3 separate regions of the Homo sapiens genome follow, and all the other regions are linked to region 3. Evidence: promoter capture Hi-C in human tissues and cell types (Jung and others, 2019). All regions are on one chromosome and are shown on one strand. Each heading gives the region's core, a stretch centred on a gene start or on the middle of the fragment in contact. The rest is flanking DNA. Distances are from core to core; before and after follow the strand shown.

Region 1 (3,054 bases), core at 499-2,998, 1.7 Mb before region 3:
ATTCTAGCCTGGGCAACAGGAGCAAAACTCCATCGGAAGGTAAACACATACACACACAGTTTTTCTTTTCAGAAAGCTCTTTTACAGTGTAGTTGGGGTCGGGCGCGGTGGCTCATGCCTGTAATCCCAGTACTTTGGGAGGCTGCAGGCGGGCGAATCACGTTGAGGTCAGGAGCTGGAAAGCAGCCTGGGCAACATAGTGCAGGCCCTCTAGTCTCTACAAAAAATACAAAAGTTAGCTGGGAGTGGTTGCACACGCCTGTAGTCCCAGCTATAAGGCACCGTCTCTACAAACGCATTTTTTAAAATTCAGCCAGGCGTGGTGGTCCACACCTGTGGTCCAAGCTACCCAGGAGGCTGAGGTGGGAGGATCGCTTGAGCCCAGGAGGTGGAGGCTGCAGGGAGGGATGATCGTACCACTGCACTCGAGCCTAGGCGACAGAACGAGACTCTCTCTAAAAAATACAAAAAACAAAACACACAAAAAAGTAGTTTGATCTAAAGCAAAATGGTGAATATCTGCAGAAACTAATGTGATATCAAGTATAGATTGATATCTATGAGATGAAAAGCTTCATTTGACCCCGGATGGGTTTGTGGGCCGTTTGACGTGCATTGTTTTAATGGAAGGTGGATTTATGATAAAGTGATAAACATGTGTGTGGGTGGGTGGGTGTGTTGGAAAGGGTGTTTATTGGATTTCTTTTTGTCTTCCTTATTTTCCTTCTTTCGGTCTCTACTGTATCAAATACAATAACAGATATTCAGGAAGAGCGGATATTGCTTTAGCTGACTGTAGCCAGTGTTTCTTTGGTGGGACAACGCAACTATCACTGCAACATTATCTCTATAGGAGAATTTAAAGAACCCTGACGCCTACCGGTTTCCGTAGTGTAGCGGTTATCACATTCGCCTCACACGCGAAAGGTCCCCGGTTCGATCCCGGGCGGAAACAGGTCAGCTGTTTTTCCTAACCGGAGAGTAATACTATTTGAAATTCACCGAAAGAACGATTCTAGTCCCATTCTTTCTCTTCCGCCTTCCTCCTGCCTTTTAGACATTTTTATGGGATTTAAAAAAATTTTCCGTGATTGATGGCTCACGCCTGTAATCCCAGCACTTTGAAAGGCCGAAGAGGGCGGATCACCTGAAGTCAGAGTTCGAGACCAGCCTGGCCAAAATGGTGAACCGCCCCCCCCCCCCCACCCCGCCCCACCCCGCCCCACCCCACCCCATCTCTACTAAAAATACAAAAATTAGATGGGCGTGGTGGCGTGCGCTTGTAATCACAGCTACTTGGGAGGCTGAGGCAGGAGAATCGTTTGAACCTGGGAGGTGGTGGTTGCAGTGAGCGGAGATCACGCCACTGCACTCCAGCCTGGGGGACCGAGCGAGACTCCGTCTCAAAACTAAAATGAAAATTTCAAACTCGCAAAAGTGGTACCGCATGCGTTGGCCGGGAATCGAACCCGGGTCAACTGCTTGGAAGGCAGCTATGCTAACCACTATACCACCAACGCCCTGATAGGTAGCATCCTCTCCGGATATCCTTAATAGTGGGGGATCATGGGTTTGACTGAGTGATACCAAGTCACAGGGGGGTGTCTCTCCCTAACCCACCGGAAGATGTCGTTCATGGGGCGTTACGCACCTTAGGCCGCCGCGCCGCGGGCTCCCCCCCAAGCGCCGCGGACGCCTTGGTACGTGCCTGGTGGTGTCCAATCCCAGGCCGCCGCCTGGGTCGCTCAACTTCCGGGTCAAAGGTGCCTGAGCCGGCGGGTCCCCTGTGTCCGCCGCGGCTGTCGTCCCCCGCTCCCGCCACTTCCGGGGTCGCAGTCCCGGGCATGGAGCCGCGACCGTGAGGCGCCGCTGGACCCGGGACGACCTGCCCAGTCCGGCCGCCGCCCCACGTCCCGGTGAGCAGCGCCCGCGCGCCTCGTCCCGCCCCGGCCGCGACCCTGAACCCGCCATTGACCGGCCCCGCCTCGGCCCTGACCCTGCCCTCGCCATCGCCTGGCCTCCCCGCACCCCGGAGCCTCCATGCACCCGTCTGTGGGTCCCTCCGGCCCCCTGCCTCGTTTCCTCTCCGCCCCAGGCCCTCCTCCACCTTCTTTCCCTCCCCGATTCCTGCGCTGGCCAGGCCACCTCCCAGTTTCTCCCCTTCCCTGATGGGCTTCCCCACCCATCCCGTTGCTGCCCAGGCCACCAGGCTCTGACCCCTTCCGGAGGTGGCCGCACCCAAGAACGTCCTCGTAGCTGCAGACCTTGACACCCTCTCCCCTTTCGTGCAGGCTCTGGAGGTCCCGATCTCCTCCCTCTCCCCATGCAAATGCTGTATATGCACAGAGGCCACCTCCCTCGACCTGCATCCTGTCCTCACTCCTTTACCACTTCCTCCAACCTTCGCCCCGAGGCTTGGTCTCCCCAATCCAGTCCTGATCCTCAACCCTACTTGATCCCTCTATTAAGGGTATCCAGAGACTCTTTTTCCTGCCGAGGCGTTGGTGGTGTAGTGGTTAGCATAGCTGTCTTCCAAGGGTCCAGCCCACAGGGTTCAGCCCCCTTCTCTCAGCCTCCCTTCTCAGGCCTGTCCAACCGCCTACCTTCTTCCCACACAGCCTTAGGCCAGCCCTGACACTTCCCTGTTCACGCTGCCTCTGAGCCATCAAAAGTGGTCTATTCCCTTGGCCCCCACCCCCTGGTCTTCCCCAGGGGCCCCAGGAGGAAGTCACTTGCCTCCCAGGCAAGAACCAACCTGCTTTCGAGGAGCTGGGACTAAAGCCCAGGGGGTGTGGACCGTAGGCACCAATCCCTGCATTCCTCTGCTGGGTCCCAGGGGAATCGGGGCCCGTGGGATGGCTTCTCTCCCAGATTCTGTCCAGGGCATGCAGACAGTGCTGCAGGGCTTCAAGGCAGAGCTAGAATCTAGCCAGGTAGAATCGGGCCTGACAGTCTGCAGCTCCTGAGTGGGGGAGGCTGAACGGCTGGCCGGTGCTTCCATTAACCTGCCACATTCATGACATGTTTATCCTATAAAGGTCTGTGTCCCACGCC
Region 2 (2,983 bases), core at 426-2,925, 1.1 Mb after region 3:
CTGGGACAACAGATGTGCACCACTATGCCTGGCTAATTTTTTATATTTTTAGTAGAGGTGGGATTTCACCATATTGGTCAGGCTGCTCTCGAACTCCTGACCTTGTGATATACCTGCCTAGGCCCCCCAAAGTGCTGGGATTACAGGCGTGAGCCACTGCGCCCAGCCTGGGGCTTGTTTCTTTACACACACACACACACACACACAATTTTTTTTTTTTTTTGAGACGGAGTCTCACTCTGTCGCCCAGGCTGGAGTGCAGTGGCACGATCCTGGCTCACTGCAAGCTCTGCCTCCTGAGTTCACACCATTTTCCTGCCTCAGCCTCCTTTGGGAGTAGCCGGGACCACAGGCGTCCACCACCATGCCTGGCTTTTTTTTATTTTTAGTAGAGACAGGGTTTCACCGTGTTAGCCAGGATGGTCTTGATCTCCTGATCTCGTGATCCACCCGCCTTGGCCTCCCAAAGTGCTAGGATTACAGGCGTGAGCCACCACGGCCGGCGCTACACGTATGTATTTTATTTATTTATTTAGAGACAGGGTCTCGCTCTGTTGCCCAGGCTGGAATGCAGTAGTGCCATCACAGTTCACTGCAGCCTCAACCTCCGGGGCTCAAGCAATCCTCCTGCCTCAGCCTCCCAAGTAGCTGGGACCACAGACATGTGTCACCATGCCTGGCTTATTAAAAAAAAATCTTTTTTTCTTTTTTTTGGAGAGTGAGTCTTGCTAGCTTGCTCAGCCTGGAGTACAATGGTGCCATCTTGGCTCACTGCAACCTCCACCTCCCAAGTCCAAGCGATTCTCCTGCCTTGGCCTCCCCAGTAGCTGGTTTTACAGGCGCGTGACACCACGCCCAGCTAATTTTTGTATTTTTGGCAGAGATGGAGTTTCACCATGTTAGACAGGCTGGTCTCGAACTCCGGACCTCAGGTGATCCACTCGCCTTGGCCTCCCAAAGTGCTGGGGTTATAGGGTGAGGAACTGCACCCAGCCGTCCTTGTTTCCACGGAGTCGATCCTCTGTTTCTGGCCACCCTACAAGGAGGCCTTCTCTGCAAGACAGCGGGGAACCTCGGTCCTCGGGGTAGTGTGTGGGAGATAACTGGGGGCCTGTGATACAAAAACCTGAAAAACTCATACTCTAGGTAACGATGAGGAACGATGGTCAATTCTGGGGATGTACCAAGGCCTAGGGGAATCTCCACATAAAGGCGAATCAGAGCTGGGGAGGAAGGACGCGAAGGCTACGGAAACTCGCGAGAGCGCGGTTCAGAGGCAGGGGACTGCGGGACATGACCTGAGGAAGGGCCACCGGAAGCAGCTGGAGGATACGGGGTCTCCCGCACCGACCATAAGGGCGCACACGCGCAGAAAGGCGCTAGGCCCGGGGGAGCGCGGTCCTGAGGCTTCCCCCAGGCCAGCGCCGCGCGCGCGCGCGCACGCGCATTCGCGCCGCCTCCCCGCGTCGCCCACCGGCCCGCCCGAGACGCGCGCGAGGCTGGCCTGGGCCCCCCGTTTTCTCCCCACAAACGGCCGGCGCCCCTCACCGCCGAGACCCCCCATGTCAGCCCCTACTCCCCCTCTGGGGAAGTCTGAGCCTGGAGAACCCGAGACCTCGGGGCCGCGCGCTTACCTGAGGGATCCGGGCGCGAGCGCAGCGCTTCGCCAAGTCTTAGCAACCGGCCCGGCCCAACCCACCTCACCCCGCCTCGTCTCCGCCTGGAGCCGCGGAGCACGACGGGAGCGTAGTTCCAGGGGCGGGATCTTCGCCAGGCCAAGGTGGGGCAAGGACTACAATTGCTAGTAGGCACTGCGCGCCGCCGCCTCGCCCCGCCCCGCTCCGGCACTGCGCTCACATGACCTCCGGGCGGCGGGAGGGGAGGAGAGGCGGGGCCGCTGCGCTGGGCGAGCGCTGAGTTTGCAGGTTCGAATCCCATCAAGCGGCCAGGGAAAACTCGGAACCCGGGGGATCTTTGGAAGGTTAGCAGAGTGGGAAGGATGAGGCAGAGGGGGTATATGACACCCGTCCCCTGAGTCCGGGATGGGGCCAGGTTCCAGTTCTGCCTGTTACTGCACTCCGGCGTGGGCCGCCCTCAGGTTTGAGTTTTCTCACCAGTAACGTAGGTGAAGAAGACCTCTTGCCTCTCCTGGGCCAAACAAGCACATTTTTTTTTTTTTTTTTGAGACGTAGCCTCAGTCTGTCACCCAGGCTGGAGTGCAGTGCTAGGCTCACTGCAACCTCCACCTCCTGGGTTCAAGCGATTTCTGGCTAGTTTTTGTACTTTTAGTAGAGAAGGGGTTTCACCAAAACATGCATATTTTATGAGCAATTTGTTACTCCTTCCAGTTGGACAGGTTTAACCAAGTGGTTCTCAACGGGAGGGAATTTGTCATCCCCTCCCCCAACAGCTTGACAGTGCCTGGCTGTAACCAGCTCAGGCTCCGATGCCAGAGTCTTGACAAACCAGTAAGGAGGAAAAAGTGCAGTGAAAGGAAGGTGACTTCCTTTCAGAGTTCGCAGCAGGGAGGCAGCTGGTTTAGGCCTCCAGAAACCCCTTCAAACTTGAGGCTGGGGTGAGGGGCTAAAAAAGGGGAACTGGGAATGGTGGGTGTGCAGGGGAGGTGCTGATTATAAGCTCTGTGTGTTCATGAATTTTGGTGGCTTAAAAGCGCAGGCTGGCCTCATCCTAATAAGGGCCGGGTTGCAGACCACCTTGAGGAAATCTCTGGGATTTTGCAGGTGGGTCTCCGTGCTTGGCCTGTCTCCAGATTAGCTCTAAAACGTTCTTTCTTTTTTCTTTTTTTTCGAGACAGTCTCGCTCTTGTCACCGAGGCTGGAGTGCAGCAGCACGATCTCAGCTCACCGCAACCTCCACCTCCCAGATTCAAGTGATTCTCCTGCCTCAGCCTCCCGAGTAGCTGGGATTACAGGCACACGCCACCACACCTGGCTAATTTTGTATTTTTAATAGAGATGGGGTT
Region 3 (2,861 bases), core at 298-2,797:
GTGTGCATCACCATGCCTGGCTAATTATTTTTGTATTTTTTGTAGAGATACAAAAAACACAAAAATGTTTTTTTGTATTGTCGCGGTGTTGTCCACACTGGTCTTGAACTCCTGGGCTCAAGCGATCCTCCCTCCTCAGCTTCCCAAAGTGCTGGAGCTACAGGCATGACCCACCACCCCTGGCCCATTGATAAGGGCTCTTGTGCCCTTTTGTAAGGGTACAAAATGGGTTTTTGTAACCCTAACCCTTAGGTACCATTAGGTACTCGATCACCTAAGGACACAAGTCCAAGTGTCATCAAGGGGCATGGATTTTTCTCTGTTTTGTTCCCAGCTGTGCCCCAGTGTCTACAGCAGTGTGTGGTCCACAGTATGCATTTAGTACACGTTTGTTGATTGACTTCACAAACCTCTCCTGAGGTTTCTCCAAAGAGAATAAGAACTTCCCACTCCCCGGGTGGGCCTGAAGGATGCTGGCTGGATGTCTGTGGTCTCTGGTCGGGGCTGGAGCCTTTGCCGTGGGAGAGACTTGAGTCTGATGGCAGAGCTGTGGTTCTTCCAGTTCTGAGTGGGACACGGCTCCTGCCTTCAAGAAACCCAGTCTGAGAGGGGAGACAGCCCAGTCCACTGGTGATGGCAGTAGGAACACAATTCCCATCTGTGGAAGTTTGCTCTGTGTAGGGAGAGGCTGACAGCGTTCATGCACTATCTCATTTAAGTGCAGTGCCCAGTGCGGTGGCTCCCGCCCGTAATCCCAGCACTTTGGAAGGCCGAAGAGAGAGGCTTGAGTCCAGGAGTTCAAGACCAGCCTGGGCAACATAGTGAGACGCCCCCCTACTCCATCTCTGCAAAAAATTAAAAAATTAGCTGGGCGTGGTGGTGCACACCTGTAGTCCCAGCTACTGGAGAAGCTGAGGGGGAAGGATCGCTTGAGCCCAGGAGTTCGAGGCTGCAGTGAGCCATGATTGCCCCACTGTACTCCAGCCTGGGCAACACAGGGAGACCCTATCTCTGCAAAAAATTAAACCCTAAAGATAGCGCACCACCCCTGACCTTTTGCAGAGACTACTGAGGCCCCCAGAGGGCGAGGGCCCGGCATGATCTGGGAAGCAGTGTTTGCTGTGAGATTCCCTTTCTGGCAGGGTTCCCTGCCAGCGCTTGGCAAGGCTGCGTCCTGCTGACCCTTCAATCTCAACCCAATGTCACTTGCTCAGAAAAGCCATTTCCGACTCCAGACTGGTCCCCGCTCCCCGCAAGCCCCCCCCCCCGCTCCCACGGTGGGTAACACGGTGTGAATTTCTTCACTGGTTTTTCTTCTCCCGCCCCTCCGGGAGGGGGTGGGGACCCTGTTTTAAGGCACTGGGCGCCTCCCCACCCGGCCTCAGTTTCCCCAACGGCCCAGGGACTGAAGGAAGGGGGCGGGTGCCCGGGGGCCGGGGGGGGCGCGGGCGCGGGGAGGGGCGGTGCGCGGGGGTGGGCGCGGGGCGGGCCGCGGGCGCGTGGGGGCGGCGGCGCCACCTTAAGGCGGCTCAGCCCGCGGCTCCCGGCCGAGCCCCGCCGGAGGGAGGCGGCTCCGCGCGGGGCCCGCCGCCCGCGCCGCCGCCACCGAAACCCGGCCGCGGCGCGCCCGACCTTCTGCGCCGGCTGCCGCGGCCGCCCTCGCCGCGCTCCCGCCCCGGCCGCTGCCCCTGCCCGCCCCGCTCGCCCCGCGCACCCCAACCCGGGGAGGGGCTCCCACGACCCCGGGCGCGCGCGCTTGGGGGCGCGCCAGGGACTCCAGGGTCCCTTGCCCCGCGCCGCTTCTCCCTCCTCCCTCTTTCTTCGGGCAGCCTCCCCACCACCCCACTTCAGCCTCCCCCACTCTTGCCGCCTCCATATCATCAAGCTCTGGTGGCGCCTGGGGGGCTTTTCGGATCGGCAGGATGTACCCCCAGGGAAGGCACCCGGTGAGTGCGGACTGCGGGGAGGGGGCCCCCAGTGTCCGGGAACTCAGACCCTGACGTTTCCCCCACACCCCCCCCAGACCCCGCTCCAGTCCGGCCAGCCCTTCAAGTTCTCGATCTTGGAGATCTGCGACCGCATCAAAGAAGAATTCCAGTTTCTTCAGGCTCAATACCACAGGTGAGGGGGGCCGCCCCAGGGGCCGCGGGAGTTCACCTGGGCGCCGGGGCGGGGCGAGGCCTCCGGGGTATAGGGCGGGGAGGAGGGGCTCCCGGTTGGAGGGGGGGCGCGACAAAGGCCTCCAGGTGGAAGCGCAGGTGCAGAGGGGTCTGGGGACAGTCAGAGCTGGGGCATTTGGAGCCCAGGAAGGGGCGGGGAGGGACTGGGACAGGAGGTGGGGGGAGGTCTGTAAGGAAGTCGGGAGGGGGAGATCCAGCCTCTCACTTTGGAAGCCGGCCCACATGGGGCGGGTGGGAGCCCCTTGCCCTCTCTCTTCTTCTCAGCCTCAAGCTAGAATGTGAGAAGCTGGCCAGCGAGAAGACGGAAATGCAGCGACATTATGTCATGGTGAGGGCACTTATGATGCCAGGGTGAGGGGAGAGGCGGGCAGGGCTTTGAGTCACGGTGGACTCTGGGGTAGGTCCCTGCCCCACTCCGAACCTCGTCTTCCCCGTCTGTACATTGGGCAGGTTGGGATTTCAGGCTCTCTAGGAGGGTCCTCCCAGCTCTGGGAATGGGGAGACAGGGAGGACCCCTCGCCTGATGGGAGTCTCTGTCGGGCCAGGGCCTCTGGACACTTCCTACCTGCCCTGCCTCTCTGGGGAGAGTAGAGGGGGCCCTTCCAGGCAGAGCCCCCGCTTCCTCCTCTGGGACCCCGTGGAGCTGGGGGGGGCTCTGCTTCCTGCTGTGATTCCCCTGAA

Evidence for each region. The method cuts DNA at HindIII sites, captures the fragments that hold promoters and counts their contacts. A contact is called where the count stands out against the background at its distance.
Region 1: the fragment with the promoter of DPP9 here is called in contact with the fragment with the promoter of TLE2 in region 3 in 1 of the 25 tissues and cell types used here (spleen).
Region 2: a contact is called between the fragment with the promoter of ADAT3 here and the fragment with the promoter of TLE2 in region 3, in 1 of the 25 tissues and cell types used here (dorsolateral prefrontal cortex).

Annotation. Positions count from the first base shown.
Region 1 is chr19:4,722,536-4,725,589 of GRCh38, reverse strand. DPP9 (dipeptidyl peptidase 9) reads left to right here and starts at 1,748. Exons shown (of 22, transcript NM_139159.5): 1 at 1,748-1,916; 2 at 3,039-3,054. It overlaps TRG-TCC1-1 (tRNA-Gly (anticodon TCC) 1-1), which reads right to left and starts at 1,520; the gene lies at 1,449-1,520. It overlaps TRV-CAC3-1 (tRNA-Val (anticodon CAC) 3-1), which reads left to right and starts at 883; the gene lies at 883-955. It overlaps LOC105372250 (a long non-coding RNA gene), which reads right to left and starts at 2,710. Exons shown (of 3, transcript XR_936274.2): 1 at 2,604-2,710; 2 at 881-970; 3 at 3-455. RefSeq lists silencers at 828-1,027, 1,478-1,567, 1,798-1,947. The HindIII fragment of the contact is 28,361 bases long and covers 1-3,054 here.
Region 2 is chr19:1,904,091-1,907,073 of GRCh38, reverse strand. It overlaps ADAT3 (adenosine deaminase tRNA specific 3), which reads right to left and starts at 1,675. Exons shown (of 2, transcript NM_138422.4): 1 at 1,635-1,675. It overlaps SCAMP4 (secretory carrier membrane protein 4), which reads right to left and starts at 1,675. Exons shown (of 7, transcript NM_079834.4): 1 at 1,635-1,675. RefSeq lists enhancers at 1,172-1,261, 2,282-2,341, 2,622-2,681 and silencers at 1,422-1,571, 1,622-1,951. The HindIII fragment of the contact is 31,876 bases long and covers 1-2,983 here.
Region 3 is chr19:3,027,966-3,030,826 of GRCh38, reverse strand. It overlaps TLE2 (TLE family member 2, transcriptional corepressor), which reads left to right and starts at 1,547. Exons shown (of 20, transcript NM_003260.5): 1 at 1,547-1,946; 2 at 2,024-2,121; 3 at 2,445-2,508. The coding sequence starts at 1,923. The HindIII fragment of the contact is 30,131 bases long and covers 1-2,861 here.